Regions from separate parts of the Homo sapiens genome. Here region 2 is linked to region 1. Evidence: promoter capture Hi-C in human tissues and cell types (Jung and others, 2019). All regions are on one chromosome and are shown on one strand. Each heading gives the region's core, a stretch centred on a gene start or on the middle of the fragment in contact. The rest is flanking DNA. Distances are from core to core; before and after follow the strand shown. Region 1 holds the start of ZNF534 (zinc finger protein 534). Region 2 overlaps ZNF616 (zinc finger protein 616).

Region 1 (6,102 bases), core at 3,404-5,903:
GTGTTTTATTATACTTTTCCATAAGGAGTGATGACATTCTTTAAATCAGAGTAGATGTCTCATTTTGTGGATAATACAAGCAATACAAACAAAAAATTAAACCAGGGTTATCTGTATAGAAATGTTAGGTATTACTGCCGGGCACGGCGGCTCATGCCTGTAATCCCAGCATTTTGGGAGGCCAAGGCGGTCGGATCACGAGGTCAGGAGATCAAGACCATCTTGGCCAACACGGTGAAACCCCATCTCTACTAAAAATACAAAAAATTAGCCAGGCGCGGTGGTGGGGGTCTGTAGTCCCAGCTACTCAGGAGGCTGAGGCAGGAGAATGGTGTGAACCCAGGAGTGGGACATTGCAGTGAGCTGAGATTGCGCCACTGCACTCCAGCCTGGGTGACAGAGTGAGACTCCGTCCCCTCCCCCCCCCAAAAAGAGAAAGAAATGTTAGGTTTTATTTTTGACACATCAAGTGACATTTAGTATCTACCTGAGATACAAGTAGTGTCTTCAGAGATGACAATGTCTACAGTGCTTTCTTTCTTTTTTTTTTTTTTTTTTTTTTTTGAGATAGGATCTTACTGTTTCCCAGACTGGAGTGCAGGGGTGTGATATCCACCCACTGCAACCTCTGCCTCCCAGGCTCAAGTGATCCTCTTAAGCCTCCCGAGTAGCTGGGACTACAGGCTCACACCACTATGCCCAGCTAATTTTTGTATGTTTTGTAGAGATAGAGTCTCACCACATTGTCCAAGCTTGTCTCAAAGGCCTAAGCTCAAGTGATCCTCCCACCTCAGCCTCCAAAAATGCTGGGATTACAGGCATGAGCTACCACATCCGACCTATAGTGGTTTTTAAAAATGGTCAAAATCTGGGCCGGGCGCAGTGGCTCACACCTGTAATCCCAGCACTTTGGGAGGCCGAGGCAGGTGGATCATGAGGTAAGGAGTTCGAGACCAGACTGGCTAACATGGTGAAACCCCATCTCTACTAAATACAAAAAATGAGCTGGGCATGGAGGTGTGCACCTGTAATCCCAGCTACTCAGGAGGCTGAGGCAGGAGAATGGCTTGAAGCCAGGAGGCAGAGGTTGCAGTGAGCCGAGATTGCATCATTGCACTCCAGCCTGGGTGACAGGGCGAGACCCTGTCTCAAAAAAAATAAATAAATAAATAAAATAAATAAAAAATGGTGAAAATCTGAAAACTGCGATGATAACAACAGCAATGGCTGAATAGAACACTTCCCATGTGATAGGCACTATTCTCAATGATTTACATGAACTAACTGGTACAGCAACAAAAGCCAATGAAAGAATAATCTGCTCCTATCTTACTAAAAAGACAACTCTTTCACATACACGCTAGCTTGCCCCAGGTGTGAGAACTGAAACAGCAGAGTAAGCAGCAGATCACAGGTGTCTGAGCATGAGAATCAAACCTAAAGAATCAGACAGTTAAGTAACAGATCAGCATCAAAAGTAAATTGACAGTTACCTAATTCAGTAAATTTAAAACAACTTCAAGGATTAAAAACATGGAATTGCCTAATAGTTCATTATATATGCATATATATAATCGATATCCCCATAATACATTACTATAATGTTCTTATAGCCATTGCCTCATTGCCTCTTATAGCCACTATCAGGTATGATGCCTCATATCATCATACATGATAATGTAGAAAAATTTGAACATCCTGATAAATAGATGTAATTTCAACTGATAAAAATATATATATATATAATGATGACATGCTATTTATAAAAACTATAGGTTTGCTCATCTGTGCACTCATGCAAACACATCACATGTACACACTTACACATATATATACTAACACTCATATACACTAGTACACATATACATTTATATGGCCGAGATCACAAAACCACACTCCAGCCTGGGCAACAGTGCGAGACTCTGTCTCAAAAAAAAAAAAAAAGGAATTCCACATGCAGCTTCTCTAGTCTTAGTCCACAGAACACTCACAGTGCATCCAGATGTGGCCCCTGAACAATCCCTGCTGCCCAACAGCACTGACACCACAAGGCCCACACCCCATCTCCATCCGTGTCTGGGTGTGAGCACTTCCCAGGACCATGCCCAGTGGAACCTCTTCCCAAGTTCATGTCATTGGGTCATAGGGAACTGGAATCTTAAGTGGAAGTGAAAGGGACTGGAAGAAGCCATGGGTAAGTGCAATGAAATGAGTCAGGCAGGATGCTTCAGAGTCAGAGATTAGCAACTCCAATGCCTGGCATTTCAGGAAGAAACAGAGACAGAACAATCCACTGAGAACATTACCTTACCTGAGTAAGGGCCATTCCTGACTTCCTTTCTTTCCTCTTCCGAGTTGCTTCCTTGCATAATATGTCTCTTTGAAAGTGAATCCTAGTATCAAAAATAATGCTGTTTAGGGCTTAGAATCAACACACCCACTTCCTGTGCCACAGCCACACAAAAAGGGAAGACTTCACCTTCTGGAAGGATGGTCCTCTGCTGCCTACTGTTGATCTCCCACAGGAAAATCAACAAGTGAGTTTTTTACTCCCTTCCTCAAAACTCTCTCCTGTCTCATGGTGAGCGACACACACACTGCAGCAGTGCAGAGCTGGGCTTGACTAAGCTCCCCTTAAAAGCACAGACTTGGCCGGGTGCGGTGGCTCCCACCTATAATCCTAGCACTTTGGGAGGCCGAGGTGGGCAGATCATGAGGTCAGGAGTTTGAGACCAGCCTGGCCAACATAATGAAACCCTCGTCTCTACTAAGGATACAAAAAATTAGCTGGGCGTGGTGACACGGGCCTGTAATCCCAGCTACTCAGGAAGCTGAGGCAGGAGAATCCCTTGAACTTGGGAGGCAGAGGTTGCAGTGAGCCGAGATCGCACCATTGCACTCCAGCCTGGGTGACAGGGTGAAACTCCATCTTAAAAAAGAAAAAGAAAAAAAAAAGGCCATGTGTGGTGGTTCACGCCTGTAATCCCAGCACTTTGAGAGGCCAAGGCAGGTCGATCACGAGGTCAGGAGTTCAAGATCAGCCTGGCCAAGATGGTGAAACCCCGTCTCTCCTAAAAATACAAAATTTAGCTGGGTAATGGCAGGCACCTATAATCCCAGCTCTTAGGAGGCTGAGGCAGGAGAATTGCTTGAACCCAGGAGACAGAGGTTGCAGTGAGCCAAGATTTTAACACTGCACTCCAGCCTGGGTGACAGAGTGCGACTCTATCTCAAAAAAAAACAAAAAAAAAGCACAGACCTCACCCTGACCAAAGCTCATGCAGAGCACAGGCCCCTCAGCCCTCTGTGGATCACAGTGCTCAATTCTAGATATAGACTATAGTAGAATCCTTTTATCGATGTGCACTATGTTCCAAGAGCCCCAATGGATGCCTGAAACCTCCATCAGTACTAAACCCTATTAATTCCCCTTAAAGACTCCATGTTACAGCTTCTCACTGGCATATCCAAATTGTCAGCATCAAGGCCGGGCGCAGTGGCTCACGCCTGTAATCCCAGCACTTTGGGAGGCCGAGGCAGGTGGATCACCTGAGGTCAGGAGTTCAAGACCAGCCTGGCCAACATGGTCAAACCCTGTCTGTACTAAAAATATAAAAACTAGCCGGCCGTGGTGGTGGACACCTGTAATCCCAGCTACTCGGGAGACTGAGGCAGGAGAATTGCTTGAACCCAGGAGACAGAGGTTGCAGTCAGCCAACACAGTGCCACTGCACTCCAGCCTTGGCGTCAGAGTGAGACTCTGTCTCAAAAAAACCCAAAAAAAAAATTGTCAGCATCAATCAATACTCATGTGCCTGGAGGGCATTGTTAAGGGAAAAAAAAAAGGGTTACATGAAAAAAAAGCACTGAGATACCATAAAAGTGGATCTCATCCAAAAGACTATTGGCCAAGTACGGTGGCTCATGCCTGTAATCCCAGCACTTTGAAAGGATGAGGCGGGCAGATCACCTGAGGTCAGGAGTTCGAGACCAGCCTGGCCAACATGGTGAAACCCCATCTCTACTAAAAATACAAAATTAGAGAGGCATGGTGGCGTATGCCTGTAATCCCAGCTACTCGGGAGGCCCAGGCGGGAGAATCGCTTGAATCCGGGAGGCGGAGTTTGCAGTGAGCCGAGATCACGCCATTGCACTCCAGCCTGGGCAACAAGAGCAAAACTCAGTCTCAGGAAAAAAAAAAAAAAAAAGACTATTAAGTGACTAACGAGCAGATACAGTCTAAAGTCAGCCCTTGGTATCTCTGGGGTACACATCAATGGATTCAATCAACTAGACTGAATAATTACAAAAAATGAAAAAAAAATAGCAAAGTGCCAGGATTACAGGCGTGAGGCACCGCGCCCGGCCTAGAAGCCTCCAAGCGGTTTTAACACGCAGGTAAGCGACCTCCAGACTCTCTAGAGAATGTCTGAATTTACTTGGAGTGGATAGAGCGGTGCCGGGACTTCAAGGTCTGCATGAGCCCTCAGATCGCGGGTGTAGAAGCACACAGGAACTGGGCAGCCTAAATTTAATCTAGACAAAGGCAAACTCACGAGTGGCGGCTTAGACAGTCTTTCCGCGCAGTCGGGTGCCGGGTCTACAGGAAAAAGCGCGCGAAACGTTCACTCCATGATCTCGACTTCCGGGTCTGCAGGAAATTGCGCGCGCATCGTACAGGCCGGGCCCGGGGCCGAGGGCAGGGCCGGGACAGGGCGGGCTCAAGGCGGGGTCTATGCTTCTGTCAGTCTGACTCAGCGATCCTGTTTTAGGGTTTTGGAGGCGAGATCTGCTCAGCACTTCTGTAAACAGATCTGTAAACAGATCTTGCTGGGGCAGAGCAAAATCGGTTGGTGATTAGATTAGATCCACGAGAATTCCTGTTATTACAATAAATTTTAAGTCCCAACTACTCTGGAAGCAGAGAGAGAAGAGAGCGTGAAAAGAAAGCAAAAAGAAAGACAAGGCCGGGTGCGGTGGCTCACTCCTGTAATCCCAGCACTTTGGGAGGCCAAGCCGGGCGGATCACGAGGTCAGGAGATCGAGACCATCCTGGCCAACATGATGAAACCCCCGTCTCTACTAAAAACACAAAAATTAGCTGGGTGTGGTGGTGGGCGCCTGTAGTCCCAGCTACTCGGGAGGCTGAGGCAGGAGAATCACTTGAACCCGGGAGGCAGGGTTGCAGTGAGCCGAAATCGTACCACTACACTCCAGCCTGGCGATGGAGTGAGACTCCGTCTCAAAAAAAAAAAAAAAAAAGAAAAGAAAGAAAGAAAATAAGACTAGAGAGAAATAGTGCAACAAAGAAAAGAATGTAGGTGTCTGTGCCTGTGTGTGAGAAAAAGGGAGAGACAAGAAAGAACGAAAGAAAGACATTTTTTTTGTTTGTTTGTTTGTTTGAGAGTTTCGCTCGTTGCCCAGGCTGAAGCTCAATGATGAGATCTCGGCTCACTGCAACCTATGCCTCCCAGGTTCAAGTGATTCTCCTGCCTCAGCCTCCCGAGTAGCTGGGATTACAGGTGCGCACCACCACACCCGACTAATTTGTTGTATTTTTAGTAGAGACGGGGTTTCACCATGGCCAGGCTGGTCTTGAACTTCTGACCTCAGGTGATCTGCCCGCCTCGGCCTCCCAGAGTGTTGGGATTACAGGCGTGAGCCACTATGCCCAGCCAGAAAGACAAATTTTAGGAATTAAGACACTTTGGAACTATCTGTGAAGGGGATGGAAGCTAAAGTGTGAAATGCTAAACCCTGCCAGAGTGGAATGCGCAGTATCATGCCAATGCCCCATAGAATAGAAATACTTTTTTTTTTTTTTTTGAGATGGAGTCTTGCTCTGTCGTCCAGGCTGGAGTGCAGTGGCACAATCTCGGCTCACCGCAAGCTTCGCCTCCCGGGTTCACACCATTCTCCTGCCTCAGCCTCCCGAGTAGCTGGTACTACAGGCACCCGCCACCATGCCTGGCTAATTTTTTTTGTATTTTTAGTAGAGACTGGGTTTCACCGTAGTCTCGATCTCCCGACCTCATGATCCGCCCGCCTCAGCCTCCCTAAGTGCTGGGATTACAGGCGTGAGCCACCGCGCCCGGCTAGAAA
Region 2 (6,283 bases), core at 2,594-5,093, 300 kb after region 1:
CCCTGTGTGCATGGTTGTGACACAGAAAGGAATGTGTTGTTTCCAAGCATTAAACAACAGATTTTTTAACTTTCAGGTTTGATGTGTGAATAATTACATTGACTGAGAAAGAAACCCAGAAGAGGAAGAAGAGGAAGGAAAAGGAGTCAGTGATGGCTACTCAGGTAGAGTGATACTTTACTCAAGTGAAGTGATATTCTTGGTGGGTCATTCTGTCTCCTTCCTTTGTGAAGTACAGGGCGTCGGAGTTGCAAATCTTCTCTGAGTCTGAAGTGTCCTTCCTGACACATTTGCTCATGCTCATCCATGCTTTTCCTCAGTTCCTCTCATCTTATTTAGATTCCATCTCACCATGATCCAGTGACATGAACTTGGGAAGAGGCTGCACTGGGCATGGTCCTGGGAAGGGCTCACACCCAGACATGGATGGAGATGGGGTGAGGGTCCCGTGGTATCAGAGCTGTTGGGCAGCAGGGATTGTTTAGGGGCCACATCTGGATGCACTGTCAGCTTTCTGTAGACCAGGAATAGAGAAGCTGCATGTGGAAGTCACATATTAATGTGCATAAATACCTAGTAAATTATCGAAAGGGGCCAGGCGCCGTGTCTCATGCCTGTAATCTCAGCACTTTAGGAGGCTGAGGTGGGCGGATCACTTGAGCTCAGGAGTTTGAGCCAACATGGTGAAACCTCGTCTTTACTGAAAATACAAAAATTAGCCAGTCATGGTGGCAGGGGCCTGTAATCCCAGCTACTCAGGAGGCTGAGGCGGGAGAATAGCTTGAACCCGGAGGTGGAGGTTGCAGTGAGCCAAGATGGTGCCACTGCACCCCAGCCTGGGTGACAGAGCAAGACTTCATCCTCAAAAAAAAAAAAAATATGGAAAAGGAGGCGTGTAAGGGGAGATCTTTCTGCCTGATTTTATACTACATTTGAAGCTGTATGAATGAGTCACTATTTCTAACTGCCTTAATGACAGGGAATTGAATGGAAAACTAGATACAGACATTAGAGCGTGTTTTATTCCATCATTGATTTAAAAATATGAAATCAACCTGAATGTCAGATTCTAGCCATGGTCAGAATATCCATCTCACAGAGACTGCGGTGTTCCTGCGGGGACTCTTACCAGCAGTTGTTTTAAGTTTTAAGGTTATAATTTTGCTCAGATGTAAGAGCTGAACATTTGTTATCAGAGAAGATGGAGCCAAATTCTCTCACTGCACCAATTATTATTAAATATTATATTTATTTTAAACATCACATGATGTATATATTTGTTTTTTTGGTAAAATTTCAAGCAGAGATGCAGTTTAGGCATTAAGAAGTTAATACAACACGAGGATGATAGGAAATAATTTTGTTTTGTTTTTTGCTTTTTGTTTTGTACGGAGTCTCGCTCTTGTCACCCAGGCCGGACTACAATGGCGTGATCTCGACTCACTGCAACCTCTGTCTCCCGGGTTCAACCGATTTTCTCTTGCCTCAGCCTCCCAATAGCTGGGATTACAGGCGTGCACCACCACGCCTGGCTCATTTTTGTATTTTTAGTGGAGATGGTGGGGGGTTTCATCATGTTGGCCAGGCTGGTCTCGAACTCCTGATCTCAGATGATCCGCCTGCCTCAGCCTCCCAAAGTGCTGGGATTACAGTGTGAACCACCACACCCAGCCTGTAAATAATGTTTTATTATATATGAAATTCATGCTAAATGAGATTTTAGCTGTTCTGGCCAAAACAGAGGGAAAAAAAAAAAAAGTAACTGTGAGATGATGGGTGTGTTAATTTGTTAAACTCTAATGACTTTTTTTTTTACTATCCATACCATAATACCATGTTGTATACCTTAAATATACACAATGTAATTTATCAGCAAACAAAAATGGGCATCAAGGAAACATTTTAGCTTTTTTTTTTTTTTTTGAGACGGAGTTTCGTCTTGTTGCCCAGGCTGGAGTGCAATGGCGCAATCTTGGCTCACTGCAGCCTCCGCCTCCCAGGTTCAAGCGATTCTTCTGCCTAAGCCTCTTGAGTAGCTGGGACCACAGGCATGCACCACCGTGCCTGGCTAATTTTGTATTTTTAGTAGAGACAGAGTTTCTCTATGTTGGTCAGGCTGGTCTCAAACTTCCGGCCTCAGGTGATCCACCCGCTTTGGCCTCCCAAAATGCTGGGATTACAGGCATGAGCCACCGTGCCCAGCTTTAGTTTTACACAGAAAGAAATTTATAACCTAAGAAAAGGACATCAAGGCATATATATTTTAAAAATTTAACTACAGAATATGAAATGGCTCCTAGAATGCAGTAAAGGAAAACTGAGCAAAGAATGAAAATTATTTTGGTTTGATTTCCACAAAATAATGAAACCTCCTCACAGTCCAAGGAATTGGAAAATGGAAATACGAAGGGTTTTCATTTTCCCCATAGCCTCAAAATGTAAACAGAACATAGTAGTAAGTTTTTTTTTTTTTTTTTTATTGGGTGGGAAATCCACCCAATATGTGTCGTTGGTGTATGAGGACACCATTGCACCTTAGGGTAGTGGGAAATCTTGCCAGATCCAGGAAAATAGGAAATGCACCATCCTAAAGAGGCAATCACTCTTTCAGTTACCCAACCTGGAGGAACCCGGGTTTCTTTTCCCTGTCACTTTCTCCATCATCCCTCATGTTTCCGTGGGGAGCTACAGTTGTAAGTTCTGTGGCAAGAGTCAGTGAGAGGTGTCAAGATGCATTTACGTGTCATTATGAGATTTTAGAAAACAATTCTTCAGTACATGTTCTGTTGTGAAATTTCATTGTGCCAGTTTTTCAAAGATACATCTTTTTTTGTTAATAAGCAGTAATAGCTTGTTTTGCATCCTCTTTGGAACAATCTCTAAATGAAGACATATGGATCTTTTATAATTTTTCACCATGGCTGCCACAATGCTCTCTTCACCACAGGTGTTTGAGGGTTCCTTCAGGTTGGACAGTTTAAAGAGTGGTTGCTTCTGTTAGGACGCTATACCACAAAAGCAAAAATAAATAACTGATCTTTCTTTGGAAGGCCTGGCTCGCTGTGTGATTATAAAATACTGTGTTTTTTTAAGATCTAATATTTTGTTGCTTACATTTTATTTGCTTGAATCTTTAATTTGAATTTTTCTGTATATCTTGTTGTAGATTATATTTGATTATAAAGTTTTAGATTATAAATAACATAATAGGTTCACAAGTAGATTGGCAAACCCCTCCATTTTCTTTCCAAAATTATTATGGTTCTCCTTTTACACAACACAGCCACATATTATTTAAATTCCACATATTGGCCGGGTGTGGTGGCTCACACCTGTAATCCAGGCACTTTGGGAGGCCAAGGTGGGTGGATCACCTGAGGTCAGGAGTTCAAGACCAGCCTGGCCAACATGGTGAAACCCTGTCTCTACTGAAAATACAAATATTAGCCGGACATGATGGTGCACGTCTTTAATCTTAGCTACCTGGGAGGCCGAGGCAGGAGAATCCCTTGAACTTGGGAGGTGGAGGTTGCAGTGAGCTGAGATCGTGCCACTGCACTCCTGCCTGGGTGACAGTGAGACTCTGTCTTCTAAAAAAAAAAAAAATTCCCACATATTTTGTTTGTGTTTTCATGGCTCTGAATTTTTTCAGTTGCAGGCCTTTATGTCACCATGTCTTCCAAAAAGAATCGAGTTTGTCAGTCTTTGATAATATCTTTATTATGTCTTTCATTAAAGCTTGTTTGCTTATGTAAAGTTCAGTAATGTTAGATATATTCACATTATTTGTTGGACTCCCAGAATGCATATGTTCTTGGTGCTTGATGGTTTTTCATGGGCCCATTAGACTCTCTTCATTTTCTTTATTTTATTTAATTATTTATTATTTATTTTTTGAGATGGAGTCTCGCTCTGTCGCCCAGGCTGGAGTGCAGTGGCATGATCTCGACTCACTGCAACCTCTGCCTCCTGGGTTCGGGCAATTGTCCTGCCTCAGTCTCCCTGAGTAGCTGGGACTACAGGCACGTGCCACCACACCTGGCTAATTTTTGTATTTTTAGTAGAGACGGGGTTTCACCGTGTTGGCCAGGCTGGTCTTAAACTCCTGACCTCAGGTGATCTGCCTACCTTCGCATTTTCTTTATTTTTGGAGACAGAGTCACACTCTATTGCCGAGGCTGGAGTGCAGGGGTGGGATCTCAGCTCACTGCAACCTCTGCCTCCTGTTCAAGCAATTCTCATGCCTCAGCCTCAGATTACAGGCATGTGCCACCATGCCTGGCTAATTTTTGTATTTTTAGTAGAGATGGGGTTTCATAATGTTGGCCAGGCTGGTCTCGAATTCCTGCTCTGAAGTGATCTTCCTGCCTGGCGTTCTGAAAGTCCTGGGATTACAGTTGTGAGCAATCATGCCCGGCCCACATTTCTTTTTAATTCTTCAAAGCCAAGATGTAAATTGCCATTTCTTTCATGTAGGTTTGTACAGATTCAGTTGGTTTCTTTTTGTAGACCGTATTTCCCTGTTTCTTTGTATGTTTTATTGTCTTCTTTTGTGACTTCAGCATTTGAAAAAATCAGCTGCCTGCCCAGATTTGGTGGCTGCTTTGTTCAGGGAGGACATTCCAATCAACTACCCTAGATTCTGGAGACTTCCCATGCTTTTTCTCTGGGCCTTTGCTTGTCATCTCCCTATTGAAGAGGTTTGCTGCTTTCTACTCAGAAGCTCCCCTATTTTCTGTACTATTGTGGATAGACTCTGGTACTGCAGATATCTGTGGTACTAGATCTTCACCCTCATGTCTTTCTGTGTTATTGCAGACACCGGTTTACGTCAGTTATCTTTTTGCTCAGTGGCCCCTAACCTTTCATCCTGTTCCTTTCAGTGCTACCACAGGAGGTCACCACTAAGGCAATTCTCAGCCTAGCCATGGAGGCAGGGACACCTTAGAGAGTGCTTATTAGGGCAAGGTCAAGGGGAGCCCTGGAAGCAGGACCACGCCTGAGACCCCAGAACTGTAGAGTCACCAGTATGTGATCCCAGCTCGGGAAACCACAGCCTGTGAGAAGTTCCATGTGGGTGATCCCAACAAAACTAATGGGGCAGGGATCCCCAGGACACTGGGGACCTAACTCCTACTCCAGGATGTCTAGAAGGTGGGACATAGAGTCAAAGAAGATTATTGTCAAGCCTTAAGATTTAATATGTGTGCCCTATTTGAGTTTCAGACTTAACATGGGAGTGGCTACCTCTTCTTTCCTGTTTCTGCATTTTGGAGTTGAAATATTTAGCCTGTGTCTACGCCACCGTTGGATGTTGGAAGCACTTAAGTCGTTTGATTTCACACGTTCACAGCTGGAGAGCAGTTTGCCTCAGGATGAAACACATTTTTGAGTCTCACCCATATCTGATTTAGATTATAGTTAGATGCAGCTGTAGACTATAGACTTTTGAATTGGTAGTAGAAAAAGTTAAGACTTTGGGGGGCCATTGGGATGGAATGCATTTTATATGTGAGGAGTACATGAATTTTGGTGGGGCAAGATGGAATGCTGTGGTCTGAGTGTTTTTCTCTCCTCCACAATTCATTTGAAACTTAATCTCCAATGCCCAATCTCCAAGTATTATGAGGTTTGGGTTTTAGTAGGTGATTGGATCCTGAGGGGTCTGCCCTTATCAATGGGATATGGTGTTCTGGTCAGTGAGATATCAAAACGCTTATCCTACGGAGTTCACTGCTTTTTGGCCCTTCTGTTCCTTCTGCCACGTGGGGACACAGCATTCCTCCCCTCCAGAAAATGCAACAAGACACCATCTTGGAAGCAGGGATCATCCCTCAGCAGACATCAGTCCTTCTGGCACCTTGATCTTGGATTTCCCAGCCTGCAGAATTATGAGAAATATATTTTTATTGTTCATAAATTACCCAGTCTGTCTTATTTGGTTATAGCAGCACAGACAGACTAGGATATTCTGTAACCATAATGTAACTGTTTGATTGTTTTGATTCAACTCTAATTCTCAGACATCTGGGTTCAGATGCTTGCTCTGCCATTTTCAGGTTGTTGACCTAGGCAAGTTTGTTAGCGTGTCTGTGACACAGTAACATGGAACAAGTCTCTCTCTCATAGGCTATCATGTTGTTATTTGAATTAGAACATGTAAAGCATTTGGAATAATGCCCAGCACGTGGGGAGTGTTCCAAAACTTCAGTCATTGCTGTTGCTCTGGTCATCACAGTTTTTAGTTTCTGACCTTTAAAGCCGCTGTAGACATTGTCATCTC

The links. Contacts are between HindIII fragments. The study calls those that stand out against the background at their distance.
Region 2: a fragment that was not itself captured here is called in contact with the fragment with the promoter of ZNF534 in region 1 in 1 of the 25 tissues and cell types used here (bladder).

What each region holds. Positions count from the first base shown.
Region 1 is chr19:52,427,699-52,433,800 of GRCh38, reverse strand. It overlaps ZNF534 (zinc finger protein 534), which reads right to left and starts at 4,653. Exons shown (of 5, transcript NM_001143938.3): 1 at 4,557-4,653; 2 at 2,312-2,393. The coding sequence starts at 2,326. The HindIII fragment of the contact is 9,448 bases long and covers 262-6,102 here.
Region 2 is chr19:52,124,382-52,130,664 of GRCh38, reverse strand. It overlaps ZNF616 (zinc finger protein 616), which reads left to right. Exons shown (of 4, transcript NM_178523.5): 2 at 77-164. The coding sequence starts at 153. Among named protein-coding and RNA genes, the nearest start is that of ZNF616, 12 kb to the left of the region's middle. The HindIII fragment of the contact is 6,561 bases long and covers 563-6,283 here.